4 separate regions of the Homo sapiens genome follow, and regions 2, 3 and 4 are each linked to region 1. The links are contacts of gene promoters, found by promoter capture Hi-C in human tissues and cell types (Jung and others, 2019). All regions are on one chromosome and are shown on one strand. Each heading gives the region's core, a stretch centred on a gene start or on the middle of the fragment in contact. The rest is flanking DNA. Distances are from core to core; before and after follow the strand shown. Region 1 holds the start of UGT1A6 (UDP glucuronosyltransferase family 1 member A6). Region 2 overlaps MROH2A (maestro heat like repeat family member 2A). Region 3 overlaps MROH2A (maestro heat like repeat family member 2A). Region 4 has its middle 5.6 kb from the start of UGT1A8.

Region 1 (3,201 bases), core at 200-2,699:
AAAACAGGTCTCAACATAAAAGGAAAAAAAAAAACAAAAAACAGGCCTTTGGGCAGATTGGGCTCACAGGCTGTAGTTCGCTGGTCCCTGGCTCAAGGTCCAGAGACAAAGCATGGGACAGAGTTGGGAAAATGGATTTTAACCTGGACCTGTTCCCTTAGTCAAGCCTTCACCTCTGTTTGAACTGGGACATTTCTAAGGCTCATTCAATGAGTATGTGACTGTCCCAGATTATCCAACTAAGCAAATCTCCTACTCTTGCCAAGCATGAGCCCTGTCTTCATCCGAATGCCTCTGTATCACTTCAGCCTCAGGTCTCCTATGTGTTCCCGCTGCTCCGAGCCGGGTATCACTTCCCCCCACCGTTTCTCCAGGAAATCCTCCAAGGGACAGTCGGCTCAAGGAGCCAAATGAGTGAGGGAGGACAGAGCCTGGAAGAAACAAGGCAGTCCAAAAGAAATAAACCCACCAACCTGAGACAAGTCTTTCCTCTTCTTACAGTTGATACCTCCAATGAAGACCATGTTGGGCATGACCGGCCTAGGATATTCAAGCACAAAGTCATATCTTAACAGCCAAACAGAGACCTTCTGATATAAGGTGATTATATCCACATCTCTCTTGAGGACAGCTGATGCGAGTTCTTCATACTTTGAAAACAGACAATAAAATAGATAGGGCTCCAACAAATTAACAAGGAAGTTGGCCACTCGTTGGGAAAAAGTCATGTGGTCTGAAAACTTTGTGTAGCACCTGGGAATGTAGGACACAGGGTCTGGGCTTCTGCTGAATGTATGCTCCAGGGAACACGGAAAACCCCTGAAGAGGTACACAGATGGTAGGCCCAAATACTCAGCCAGGATCACCCCACAGGGTAAGGCTGGGTCTGTGAAAAGAGCATCAAACTTGCTCTCCTTAAAGAAGTTCAGGGTGTCCCTGTCCTGCAGGAGGCTCTGGCAGTTGATGAAGTACAGGCCAATAACAATCATGTTATTCCTGTACTCTGTCTGAGGAGCAGTTAGGAATGATCGCTCAGCAAAGTGATTGTTTCCAAATGATTGGTAACGGTTCTTCAGCTCTTCTTGGTCATACGGCACTGGATAGATTTTTCTTGTGTAGTATTTGGATTCTTTCAAAAGCAAATTAACTTCAGGCACCACCACTACAATCTCATGACCCCGGTCACTGAGAACCTCAACTATATCCTTCATACTAAGCCAGTGGCTTCCGTCCTGAGGGACCACCAGCAGCTTGTCACCTACAACCATGCCCCAAAGTGCTAAGAAGAAAACCCCTGCAGAAATTCTCTGAAATGAGCGAAGGAGGCAGGCCATCCTGGAAAGAGTTAAAGTAACAACGGTAATAAAGAGTTTTCACTCTCCAAATCACAGGGCTCCTAGGTATTTTCCCTAAACTAACCACTGCTTTTCACAGGTCCTGTCTACCTCTCCCTTGCTCTGAATTTTACCCTTTGATATGTAAGAACCCAAATTAATATTTAACCATTTTAATCACATGGTTAATATGAACCAACTATGGCCGTGTCAGCTTTCACCTGAGCTTCTGGGTGTTTCTCTTCAGCTCCACAAGTCTGCTTCTCCCTCTCTGAAAAGTTATAGCAACACTTTGAAGATGACTTGGAGAGACCCCTGAGGACCCCCTGCCAATTCTCTATCCCGAACTTGCTGGATTCCTCATCATTGACGTTGTCTGTTATGTCCATGATGTGCGGGAATTTTTCTTGCACACGGACCTATTCTCTAACACCAGCTGGGTATCCTACAATTCAATTCCATTCTGAACTGAATTCTGAGTTAGCACGGACCCCACAGGTTAAGGGCTCAGTCCTACAAGACTGCCCTCACTTCAGACACCAATTGCAAGTAGTAGGTCCCCAGGTTACCCACAACTTCTGTCTGACTTGGCAAAAATCAGAGGTTCACACACCCTCTTTCTTGGAGTCAATCATTTGCTAGAATGGCTCACAGAACTGAAGAAAACAGTTTATTTACTAGGTTTGGTTTATTACAAAGGATATTGCAAACAATACGGATGAATAGCCAGAGGAAAAAGTACAAAGAACAAGATATGGGGGTATGGCCATGGAGCCCCATCTGCCATCTCTGGGTGCCCCACCCTCCACACCTTCAGCAACCTGAAAGCTCTCTGAACCCTGCCCTTCTGAGTTTTTATGTAGGCTTCCATACATAGTAGGCATGATTGATTAGATTGTTGCCCATCGGTGATCAAATCAATCTTCAATCTCTCTCTCCTTTCTTCCCTCTAATCGCAAGGGTTTTGTTCCCTGGCAACTAGCCCTCATCCTTAGAGACTTTACATCTCCTTTACATAAACTTAGGTGTGATCGAAAGGGATCTGTTTTGAATAACAAAAGATTCTTTGTTCACGTTTATCGCTCCCACCACTTATGGTTTCAGGAGCTGTGTCCAGGAAACAAAGACAAACATATATTTCTTATTATACATCACAATATAACAACATTCAAACTGTTACTTGCCTTTAGGAAATTAAGATTTGAGAAGTATAAGTCTAGCCAGTACGTGGTGAGAATCCTAGAGCAGGAGTCAGAAAGCCTGGTATCTGCTTCTGGCCCAGCCACCCATCTGCCAGGGGAGTGACTCCTCTCCTGAGCTTCAGGTTTCTCAACTGAGGCCCAGAAAGGGAGGGTCACACTGGCCCTGCCTGCTAACCACACTGCTGAGGGCGGTCCCAGAGCAAGACCTGTGTAGAAACTAGGCTGTCCCAGTGAGAGGTGGTACCTTGAATTACTAGAACAGACTTGCCCAGAGCTAGTCATGCACACCTGGCTGGCACGCGAGTTCCTGTTCCCACCCACAAGTTTGGCACCGGAGGTGTTCTGGGGCCCAGGAAGGGAGAAGAAGCCTGAGCAACATGATTAGAGGGGCCACTCCAAGGACAGGGCTGGCCCCCATGGGGAACATAACCAGGATGCAAATTCATTGTTCAAGGCATGCGAAGACTCAGCTCAGTCCAAGCTGGGAGCAGCCTCCCAAGAGGATTGGCAGCTTACAATGATCAAAGTCATGGGGGCGGCAGCATCTTGCTTTGAGTTCATCTAGATAGCAATAAGACTCCAGGAAGGTTGCAAAGGGAACAGAGCTCAGGTCCACCTTCTTGAGCAGGCAGACATTAGGCAGGTTTCCTTCAAAGAACAGTTCA
Region 2 (3,201 bases), core at 307-2,806, 120 kb before region 1:
CAGATTAAGCACCTACTGCGTGCCAGAGACAAAGTAGGGACATGACATACTGCAGGCCCTTTCAACACAGAGGGCAGCAGTTGGGCCAAAGGCCGTGGAAGCTGAGACCCCAGAAAACTTGGGCTGTGAGGCCAGCCCAGGAAGGCCTCCCTCCCTGAGAGACGGCCAAGGGCCCTGAGACCAGCCTGGCAGCCCAGGCAGGCTCCCCGGCTGTCACCTTGGCGATTCTGGAGGATGCACAGAAGATCTTCTCCACATCTGTGCTCTGGAGGTCCCCCTTACATTTCTCAAGCTCCTTCTGCTTGGAAGGGCCCCACAAGGAGCAGGTCTGGCTTGCTGTCGGGAATACAACTTCAGAAATGACCAGCAGGGACAAAAGGCCCAGCCACCCCCCCTTCGTGGCTACCTCCTGCCCTGGCTTTGCAGGCCTGAGCCACCCTCCAGCATGTGAACGTCCCAGGCGTTCTGACCTTTGCTCTCACTGGTCCTTCCCTGTGGCGGCCTCTGCCCGCACCACCTCTCCGCCCAGCTCAGAGGCCTGCTCTCCCTTGAACTCAGCTCTGGCCAGCTCTGTCACATGCTTGGCATCTGGGAGCTGACTTTCTCCCAGCCAGGCCCTCAGTGCCCAGCACATGCCCTCCATGGGTCAATCTGGGCTAATGAACCTCTCCTTCTGGAAGCTTCCATGGCCTGTTGGTGAACTCTCCCCTCACTGCTCCCTCTGATGGTCACCTGTGTTTGTCTCCATGCCTGCCTGCACAGAGGCCATCCTTCCCTCCAGGGCAGGCCGCAGCCCATACTCCTGGAGTCAGCCCTCTCTCCCTCCCAGAGGAGCTGGTCCTCATGTCCTGCCCTCTCATACCGTGAAGATCTAGCAGGCTGGACAGGACATTCATTGAGGCCATGCGGGTTCTTTGATGGGCATCACAGGTGCACGGGGCAATGAGTCCGACCATTGTGCCAAACTGCCCCAGCTTTAGGTGGATCTGAGGGACAGGAGACCGTGGGGCTCACACCTCTGTGCTCTCATGCACACCTGGGGCTGCCCAGGGGCAGTGTAAAGGACAACTTGATAGGGCAAACCCTGCTCTGAAACACCCATTTGGGGAAGGGGAGGGTGCCACTGTCTGTCCCCTGTCCAAGCATCAGCCTCCCCTGCCCACAGCTGGGCCCCTGGAGGCTGAGCAGCCTGGATCTGTGGGCCCTGGATCAGGACTCCCTCTGACTCAGCTCTGCTCAGTTCACAGCTCTGAACTTGGGCCCAGTTGTTCCTGTAACGAACCCTGGGGATCAAATCAGAGCTTCCTGCTCACTAGCTGAGCAGTCCAGGCAGGGTACTCTGCCTCTCAGTCTCATGTTTCCTGTCTGCACAGTGGAGATGATGATGGCACCTCCTCTTGCAGGGAATGTCATGAGAGCCCAGGTGAAGCCTTCCACACAGCCTCTGGCCTCACATGTTACTGAGTGTTGGACTTGGCCCCTGCCTCATTTTGCTGAGCCTTCATCCCCACCTCCATCCAGGTGCCCAGGACCAGGGTCCTCCTGCCCAGCCCACTTCTCTCCCTGCACCAGACGCCCATCCCTGCGCCCCAGACCCTGACTCCATCATCCTCCTGCCACAGCCATCCTGAGGACAAGACAGTCAAACAGCATGGAGCCAAAAAGTGTAGACAATTAAGTCTCATCAGGCTGTGTCAGATGGTCAATCAGTAAAAACACTACGTCGTTCTAGACATTTTAAGGGTTGCGGTACTTGTCAAGCTTTGCAAAATTTATGATTTTGCAGCACTTGATTTTCTCAAAGTAAATATTCATTTTCCTAGCCAATGTGGGGTTCATAACTATGTATCTTTTTTCTTAAAAAGGGCTCTCACCGCTACAGAAGCCACAGGCCCCACAAAGCCTGGAGCTCTGCCAACCACAATCCCACCCTCTCCCTCCCTGACCCAGCCCAGGGCACTAGGTCACTGCAGCCTCTCCCAAGGGGCCCTCTGGGGACAGAACTTGATTTCATAAGTGTTCCCTCATCTTCCAGATAGACACAGGAATTTTTCTGTGCATGTCAGAGCAGCAGGCTGGGGGCTGGGGACTCCTGGACTCACACAGACAGCAGTGCTGTGGACATAAATCCACATGAGATAGAGATGGAGGCTCACGGCCTTTTCCCGCTCCCATTCTTTCTCCGACAAGATCCACTTTTCCAGGAGCTATGGGTAGAGCCCAGAACACCAAAGTGGGTGTTAAAATCCTGGGGCCAGCCCTTTCCTGGCCAGCTTTTGCCCACCTCACCCTCCTACTCAGATCGACTTTCAATGCTTCCTTGTGGTTCTAGACAGGCCCCATCATGAAGGGAGATGAGGCTGTAGGCAGGGAAAGAGCATCCCCAGCATTCTCACCAGGATGGTGCTTGGCTGTTGCATTTGGCCTGGCTCCAAATGTCTGCCTGTAATGAAGGGCCAGGAGCACAGCCCACCCTGCACTCCAGATGGCCCCAGAGGCCGTTCTGATATAAAAGTTCATTTTAGAGCAAATGACATTACCATAGATAAACAGGGTCATGTCATCACAATAAGGGTCAGTTCATCAACCAGACATAACAATCCTAAATGTTTATGCACCTAATAACATAGCTAAATAATACATGAAGCAAAAAATGAAAGAGCCAAAAGGAGAAATAAACAAGTTCACACTATTAGTCAGAGATTTCAGTGCCTTTTTCTCAATAATTGATAGAACAAAAAGACAGAACATCAAAAAGGAGACAGAAAACCTGAAAAATACTATTAACCAACTTGGCCTAATAGACATTTTGAAACACTACACTTAACAACAGCAGAATATTTTTCAAATACACATGAAATATTTACCAAGATAGATGGTATCTGGGCAACAAAATAAATCTCAGTCAATTTAAAAGGATTTAAAATACGGAATTTAAGTATGTCATCAGAGAACAATGCAGTTAAATTAGGAATCCAAACCAGAAAGATTCTCGGAAACTCCCAAATATTTGAAAATCTCTAAATAACTTTCAGGTCAAAGAAGAAATCATAAGGGAAATTTAAAATGTTTCGAACCGAAATAAAATTAAAACGCAACGTATCAGGATCTGTGAGATGCAGCAAAAAAAAAAAAAAAAAAAGCAAAATCTAAGGACTTACATTATCTGATCCTGATTTCAAGGCTTATTATAATATAACA
Region 3 (3,201 bases), core at 302-2,801, 110 kb before region 1:
CTAAAGGACCCCATCAATCACCTACATCACCAGCGATGCCCTTGGGGCCAGAGTTGGAGGGAAGGGGACAGGAGCAAGCATGGTAGGTGGGCATAGTTGTTTTGAGAGCCTGGTGTTAACAGTGCCCACTCTGAGTGGACCACAGTGAGGGTAGTCTACAGAGGATGGGATGCCTATAGTTACTCTAGCTGGCTCAGAGAAGCCAGGCAGAGCAGAGGCCCAGTAAGGTCATGCATGGGAAAGGCTGGGCCAGGAGCTCCCAAGGATGGGATCTGGACCAGGGCTGTGGGCTGGGGGGACAGGACATGAGGAGTGAGCTATCCAAAGGAAGTTTACACAATTCTAACATGACCTAGATATGATCAGGTAGGCATTAATATCCAGGTAGGCATTAATAGTATTAATTTGGACTTGGATGTTTCCAGGAGAAGGGGGAATGAGGGTGGGAGGAATGTGGAGAGGGGTGGGCATTCCCAGACAAGGAGCCAGCCCACCTGCCCAATCCAATCAGCTGGACAGGAACTTTGCCCACCTTGCCTGCTCTTGCCAGCCACGCTGACATCCACATCCTGGCCATGGAGCTGGTGTTCTGCCAGGTTTGTGAGGCTGATACAGATAGGAGTCAAAGCTTCCACGTAGTCTGTCTCCATGATGTAGCACAGCAGCCTCACCCAAAACTCCTGGGGTAGGGGTGGGAGAGAAAGGGGCTCAGAATTAGCCCAAGCCCTGGGCTTCTAAGGAGAACAGTCAGGCTCTGCCATGGTGCCATCCCATCCCTGCTTCCCCAGAGATGTCCCCTGACAGTCTCAGCCCTGAACTGGCTCCACCGCCAAATCCAGTCTTTGTCAGGGGCATTTAAGTGTCACCCACCCTGATGTGGCAAGAGAGTCTGCTAGTCCCTGCTGGGGCCAGCATCCCTGTTGCCCAACTCCTATCACTGCCAGCCTCATACAAACCCACACTCATCAAACCCTTCTCATCCAGGGCCCTCCCTCTGATCCCAAGTCCTCTAGAGGGGCACCCCGGGCAGATGATCCAGTTGTGCATGCCTGGTATGACGGTCAGTTTTGTGTGTCAACTTGGCTAGGCGACTGTACCTAGTCATTCAGTCAAACACCAATCTAGGTGTTGTTGTGAAGGTAGCTTGTAGGTGTGACGAAAGTGCATAATCCATAAAAGAGATTATCCTCAATAACATAGGTGGGTGAAACGCCTTAAGAGTGAAACGCTGGGATTTCTCTGAGGAAGAAGATATTCAGCCACAAGGCTGCAGCATCCGCCCCTGCTAGTCTCCAGCCTGCTGGCCTGCCACACAGGTGTCAGACTTGCCAGCCCCCACAACTGCATGAGTCACTTCCTTAAAATAAACCAGGCTATATATGTCTTCTACTGGTTCTGTTTCTCTGGAGAACCCTGACTGATATGGATTCTTGGAGCTGTGTTTCCAACTTCACCCCACCATCTCCTCTCTCCCTGGGTGACCGTTCAACACCCCCGACTAATTATAATCCCTCTCCACCCCACCCCCACCCCTAGGAGTTGAAGGTGAGGCTCTTGTGCTACCAACCATCAAGTGCAATGGCTTAACCTGTTGTAGCCACCAGGACTAGAATCTCCCAGTTCCTGGGCTTCCCCATAAAGACAGCATGGTGAATTCCAAGGGAATTTCAATCCTGGATCTATTGTTTACCAGATATGAGGCCTTGAGCAAATTAATGAATCCCTCTGGGTCTGTTTCTTCATCTACAAAATCAGGATAATAACTACCCTCTATGCAGGTAGTTGCTGGGATAATTAAACAAGATTGCACAGGTTGCACACCTAGTACAGTATACCTGCTATATGTGGGTGCCACATGGACTGTAGCTATGATGATGATGATGATTATTATTATTTCTGCAATTAAAAAAAGCTGTCGCTGGACAGGGATCATCTAGCCTGCAGCCTCAGTGAGTAATCATTCCCTCCTTGATGTTCTCATGGTACATTTTTCCTCTTATTGCTACGTCACATTTTGTTGCAATTAAAAGTTGACACATTTGTTTCTCCCATAGTCTGTGAACTCCTTCCACTCCTTCCCGTCATACTGAGTCCTCCTAGTGCACACTCCTCTGTCCTGTCTTTCACAGAGTTAGAACTCAATGAATGTTTACAAAATTAAACCATGAAAATCATTGGTCTACACACAGACACACACACACACACACACACACACATACACACACACACGGGCCTTAAAGTAATGGACACATTTCAGGTACTTGCTCAAATGATACAGACTGATACTGCCAGCCATGCTGAGGTCGTGCACTGCCCAGCCTCTAGGGGTACAGAGATGAAGAGTAAGTTCTCATCAAGGACCTGGCTTTGGAACTGGGTTTTGAGTAATTCCAGGCAACTGGAAGAGGAAGGCCCCTCAACACTCCAGACAGCAGGAACGGAAGAAGCAAAGATGTGGAATTCTGGGCATGTGTGGTTCACCCCCAGCCTGGCGTGGTGACCCACTGTGCGGGTGGGGCAGGGCCCACTCACGGTGGTCATCCCACTGACAGAAGAGGTAATGATCTTCACAGTGTCCATGGTGACTTTGTGGACCATCCTCTCCTCCAAGTCCCTCTGATAAAACTTCTCCCGGCGATTTGTCTGGAAGAAAGAACCAAGGGATTCCCACCTGTGGCCTAGCAGAGGTTTGTCGTGGTCTCAGGTGTGGTCTCCTCACTCCCCAGGGGCTCCATGCCCAGATACTGAGTCTACAGAATGCTCAGAGCTGTGCATATATCTAGGACCCCACACATTGTCACCTGCAGGTTCACTGTGTCTATGAACTCCTGTCATGAATGGATACGCAGGTTTGAACACAGGTACGCTGAGTGGCATTCTCCCCTCAGCACTGTGGAAACCATTTCCAAGTCCAGCTGCTCTGCGGTCTGCGTATCAGGGCCACTCACCAGTTTGTAGGTGGATAAGGTCAGCTGCACAGACAGGTACTTCAGGCCCCAGCCTTTGATTCTCTCCTGGTAGCCACAGAGAGCCAACTGCCCAATGATGTGGAGAATAGCCATCCTCACCTGAGGGGACAGGACCGTGGACATGCTGGGGGTTGGGGTGGGCTCCAAGGCACCCAATCCTGTGACATAGAGAGCTAGGAATTGGGGGTGCTCTGGGCTAGAAGGGGCCTCAGGGACTACCTGATTACTGCCC
Region 4 (3,201 bases), core at 274-2,773, 81 kb after region 1:
AAAATGGTCATACTGTCCAAGGTAATTTATACATTCAATGCTATCCCCATCAAGCTACCATTGAATTTCTTCACAGAATTGGAAAAAAACTACTTTAAAGTTCATATGGAACTAAAAAAGAGCCAGTATAGCCAAGACAATCCTAAGCAAAAAGAACAAAGCTGGAGGCATCACGCTACTTGACTTCAAACTATACTACAAGACTACAGTAACCAAAACAGCATGGTACTTGTACCCAAACAGATATATAGACCAATGGAACAGAACAGAGGCCTCAGAAATTATGCCACACATCTACAACCATCTGACCTTTGACAAACCTGACAAAAACAAGAAATGGGGAAACGATTCCCTATTTAATAAATGGTGTTGGGAAAACTGGCTAGCCATTTGTAGAAAACTGAATCTGGACCCCTTCCTTACACCTTATACAAAAATTAACTCAAGATGGATTAAAGCCTTAAACATAAGACCTAAAACCATGAAAACCCTAGAAGAAAACCTAGGCAATAACCATTCAGGACATAGGCATGGGCAAAGACTTCATAACTAAAACACCAAAAGCAATGGCAACCAAAAGCCAAAATTGACAAATGGGATCTAATTAAACCAAAGAGCTTCTGCACAGCAAAAGAAACTATCATCAGATGGAACAGGCAACTTAAAGAATTGGAGAAAAGTTTTGCAACCTATCCATCTGACAAAGGGCTAATATCCAGAATCTAAAAGGAACTTAAACCAATTTACAAGAAAAAAACAACCCCATCAAAAAGTGCGCAAAGGATATGAACAGACACTTCACAAAAGAAGACATTTATATGACCAGCAAACATATCAAAAACAGCTCATCATCACTGGTCATTAGAGAAATGCAAATCAAATCCACAATGAGATACCATCTCATGCCAGTTAGAATGGCGATCATTAAAACTCAGGAAAGAACAGATGCTGGAGAGGATGTGGAGAAATAGGAACACTTTTACACTGTTGGTAGGAGTGTAAATTAGTTCAACCATTGTGGAACACAGTGTGGCGATTCCTCAAGGATCTAGAACCAGAAATATCATTTGACACAGCAATCCCATTACTGGGTATATACCAAAGGGCTTATAAATTATTCTACTATAAAGACGCATGCACACGTGTGTTTATTGCAACACTATTCGCAACAGCAAGGATGTGGAACCAACTCAAATGCCCATCAATGATAGACTGGATAAAGAAAATGTGGCACATATACAACATGGAATACTATGCAGCCATAAAAAAGGATGAGTTCATGTCCTTTGCAGAAACATGGATGAAGCTGGAAACCATAATTCTCAGCAAACTAACACAGGAACACAAAACCAAACACCGCATGCTCTCACACATAAGTTGGAGTTGAACAATGAGAACGCATGGACACAGGGAGGGGAACATCGCACACCAGGGCCTGTCGGGGGGTGGGGGGGTCTAGGGGAGGGATAGCTTAGGAGAAACACCTAATGTAGATGTCAGGTTGATGGGTGTAGCAAACCACCATGGCACGTGTATACCTGTGTAACAATGTTCTGCACATATATCCCAGAACTTAAAGCATTTAAAAAGAAAGAAAAGTGTAAGAGCAGGAAAAAAAAAATGCATGTGGCACCAGGGCATATGTTTACCTATGTAACAAACCTGAACATCTTCCACATGTACCCCAGAAATAAAAATTAAAATTAAAAAGAAAGTATGTGCCATCTCTCCTGTCTCTCTCTTGCTCCTGCTCTTGCCATGTGACACACCAGCTCCCCATCACCTTCTGTCATGATTGTAAGCTTCCTGAGGCCTCACCAGAAGCAGATGCTAGCACTGTGTTTCGTATAAAGGCTGCAAAACTGTGAGCCAATTAAACCTTTTTTCTTTATAAATTACCCAGCCTCAGGTATCCTTTACAGCAATCCAAACAGACAAATACAGCCTTGCACAAAGAAAATCAACCGTAATATTTGTTGCACTGGACAGAATTATATTCTGCAGGTTTTCTTGATACCTTCATGGACGAGCTAAGCAGTGTGTGTCAGGCAACACCTTAAAGAACATTTAGTGAGAGATTCCACAAACAACCTCGGGGTATAATCCTTGTAGGAGTACAAGATGGCTCCTTTCAGGACACCCTAACTGGTACTAGACATTTGCTTAGTCATCTTTTCTTTTGGTGACTGGGGCACTTGCAGATGACTGTCCTTGAAAAATAAACATGACGGTCAGTGATCTACCTTCCCTGGAGGCTTACTTCAGAATAGAAATCAATGAAATGGAAAATGCGTTTAAAAAATGGCAAAATTAATTAAACCAAAGCTGGTTTGTTGAGAAAATTAATGAAACCAAAGCTGGTTTGTTGAGATCAATTAATTTGGTAAAGCTCTAGCCACCTTGATCTGAAAAAAAAAAGAGAGAAGAAATAAATTATCAATATCAGGAATGAGAGAGGTGGTATCACCATAGATTCTACAGATATTAAAATGCTAAGAGAATATCATGAACAAATTTATGCCCAAAAAATCTACAACTTAGATGAAATGGGCACATTTTGTTAAAGAGACAAACTGCTAGACTATTCACAAGAATAAATACATAACCCCAATAGAACTAACCTGTATCTGTCGAATTGAATTTGTATTTGTAATTCAAACCTTCCCACACGAAACAAAGTGAAGCTCAGATGACATCACTAATGAATCCAGCAAACATTGAAGGAACAAATAATACCAATTATTCACAAACTAGTCCCAAAAACTGAAGCCTAGGGGATTTCCTAATACATTTTATGGGACCAGCATTATCACAGTACCAAAACCAGACAAAGATATTATGAGATAAAAAAATTACAGACCTTCATGGCCTTAGATTCAAAAATTTTAAACAAAATATTATTAAGTCAAATTCTGTAATATTTTAAAATAGTTACTACATAAAAAAAATTATACACCATAACCAAATGGGGTTTATCCTAGGAATGCAAGGCTGGTTTGACATGGTACCACTATGTTCATAGCAACATAACTCACAAGAGCCCAGCCTGTAAGTGGAAACAACCCAAGCAAAAATGTGGTGTATATATACGGAATGCAATATTATTAGCCTTAGAAAGGAAGAAAATTCTGACATATGCTAACATGAATGAACTTTAAGGACATTGTGCAGAGTGAACTAAGCTAGTCACAAAACGACAAA

The links. The method cuts DNA at HindIII sites, captures the fragments that hold promoters and counts their contacts. A contact is called where the count stands out against the background at its distance.
Region 2: a fragment that was not itself captured here is called in contact with the fragment with the promoter of UGT1A6 in region 1 in 2 of the 25 tissues and cell types used here (liver and small bowel).
Region 3: a fragment that was not itself captured here is called in contact with the fragment with the promoter of UGT1A6 in region 1 in 2 of the 25 tissues and cell types used here (H1 embryonic stem cells and neural progenitor cells).
Region 4: a contact is called between a fragment that was not itself captured here and the fragment with the promoter of UGT1A6 in region 1, in 6 of the 25 tissues and cell types used here (adrenal gland, liver, mesenchymal stem cells and 3 more).

The regions. Positions count from the first base shown.
Region 1 is chr2:233,691,138-233,694,338 of GRCh38, reverse strand. It overlaps UGT1A6 (UDP glucuronosyltransferase family 1 member A6), which reads right to left and starts at 1,449. Exons shown (of 5, transcript NM_001072.4): 1 at 474-1,449. The coding sequence starts at 1,334. All of the region lies in intron 1 of UGT1A8 (UDP glucuronosyltransferase family 1 member A8), which reads right to left. The region is part of intron 1 of UGT1A10 (UDP glucuronosyltransferase family 1 member A10); the gene reads right to left. All of the region lies in intron 1 of UGT1A9 (UDP glucuronosyltransferase family 1 member A9), which reads right to left. It also overlaps UGT1A7 and UGT1A. RefSeq lists enhancers at 2,097-2,703, 2,704-3,201. The HindIII fragment of the contact is 31,227 bases long and covers 1-3,201 here.
Region 2 is chr2:233,815,787-233,818,987 of GRCh38, reverse strand. It overlaps MROH2A (maestro heat like repeat family member 2A), which reads right to left. Exons shown (of 42, transcript NM_001394639.1): 27 at 2,103-2,207; 28 at 863-986; 29 at 218-336. Among named protein-coding and RNA genes, the nearest start is that of HJURP, 37 kb to the left of the region's middle. The HindIII fragment of the contact is 4,546 bases long and covers 1-3,201 here.
Region 3 is chr2:233,799,647-233,802,847 of GRCh38, reverse strand. MROH2A (maestro heat like repeat family member 2A) reads right to left here. Exons shown (of 42, transcript NM_001394639.1): 13 at 2,949-3,068; 14 at 2,533-2,643; 15 at 533-680. Among named protein-coding and RNA genes, the nearest start is that of MROH2A, 23 kb to the right of the region's middle. The HindIII fragment of the contact is 7,942 bases long and covers 1-3,201 here.
Region 4 is chr2:233,610,457-233,613,657 of GRCh38, reverse strand. It overlaps UGT1A. Among named protein-coding and RNA genes, the nearest start is that of UGT1A8, 5.6 kb to the left of the region's middle. The HindIII fragment of the contact is 6,432 bases long and covers 1-3,201 here.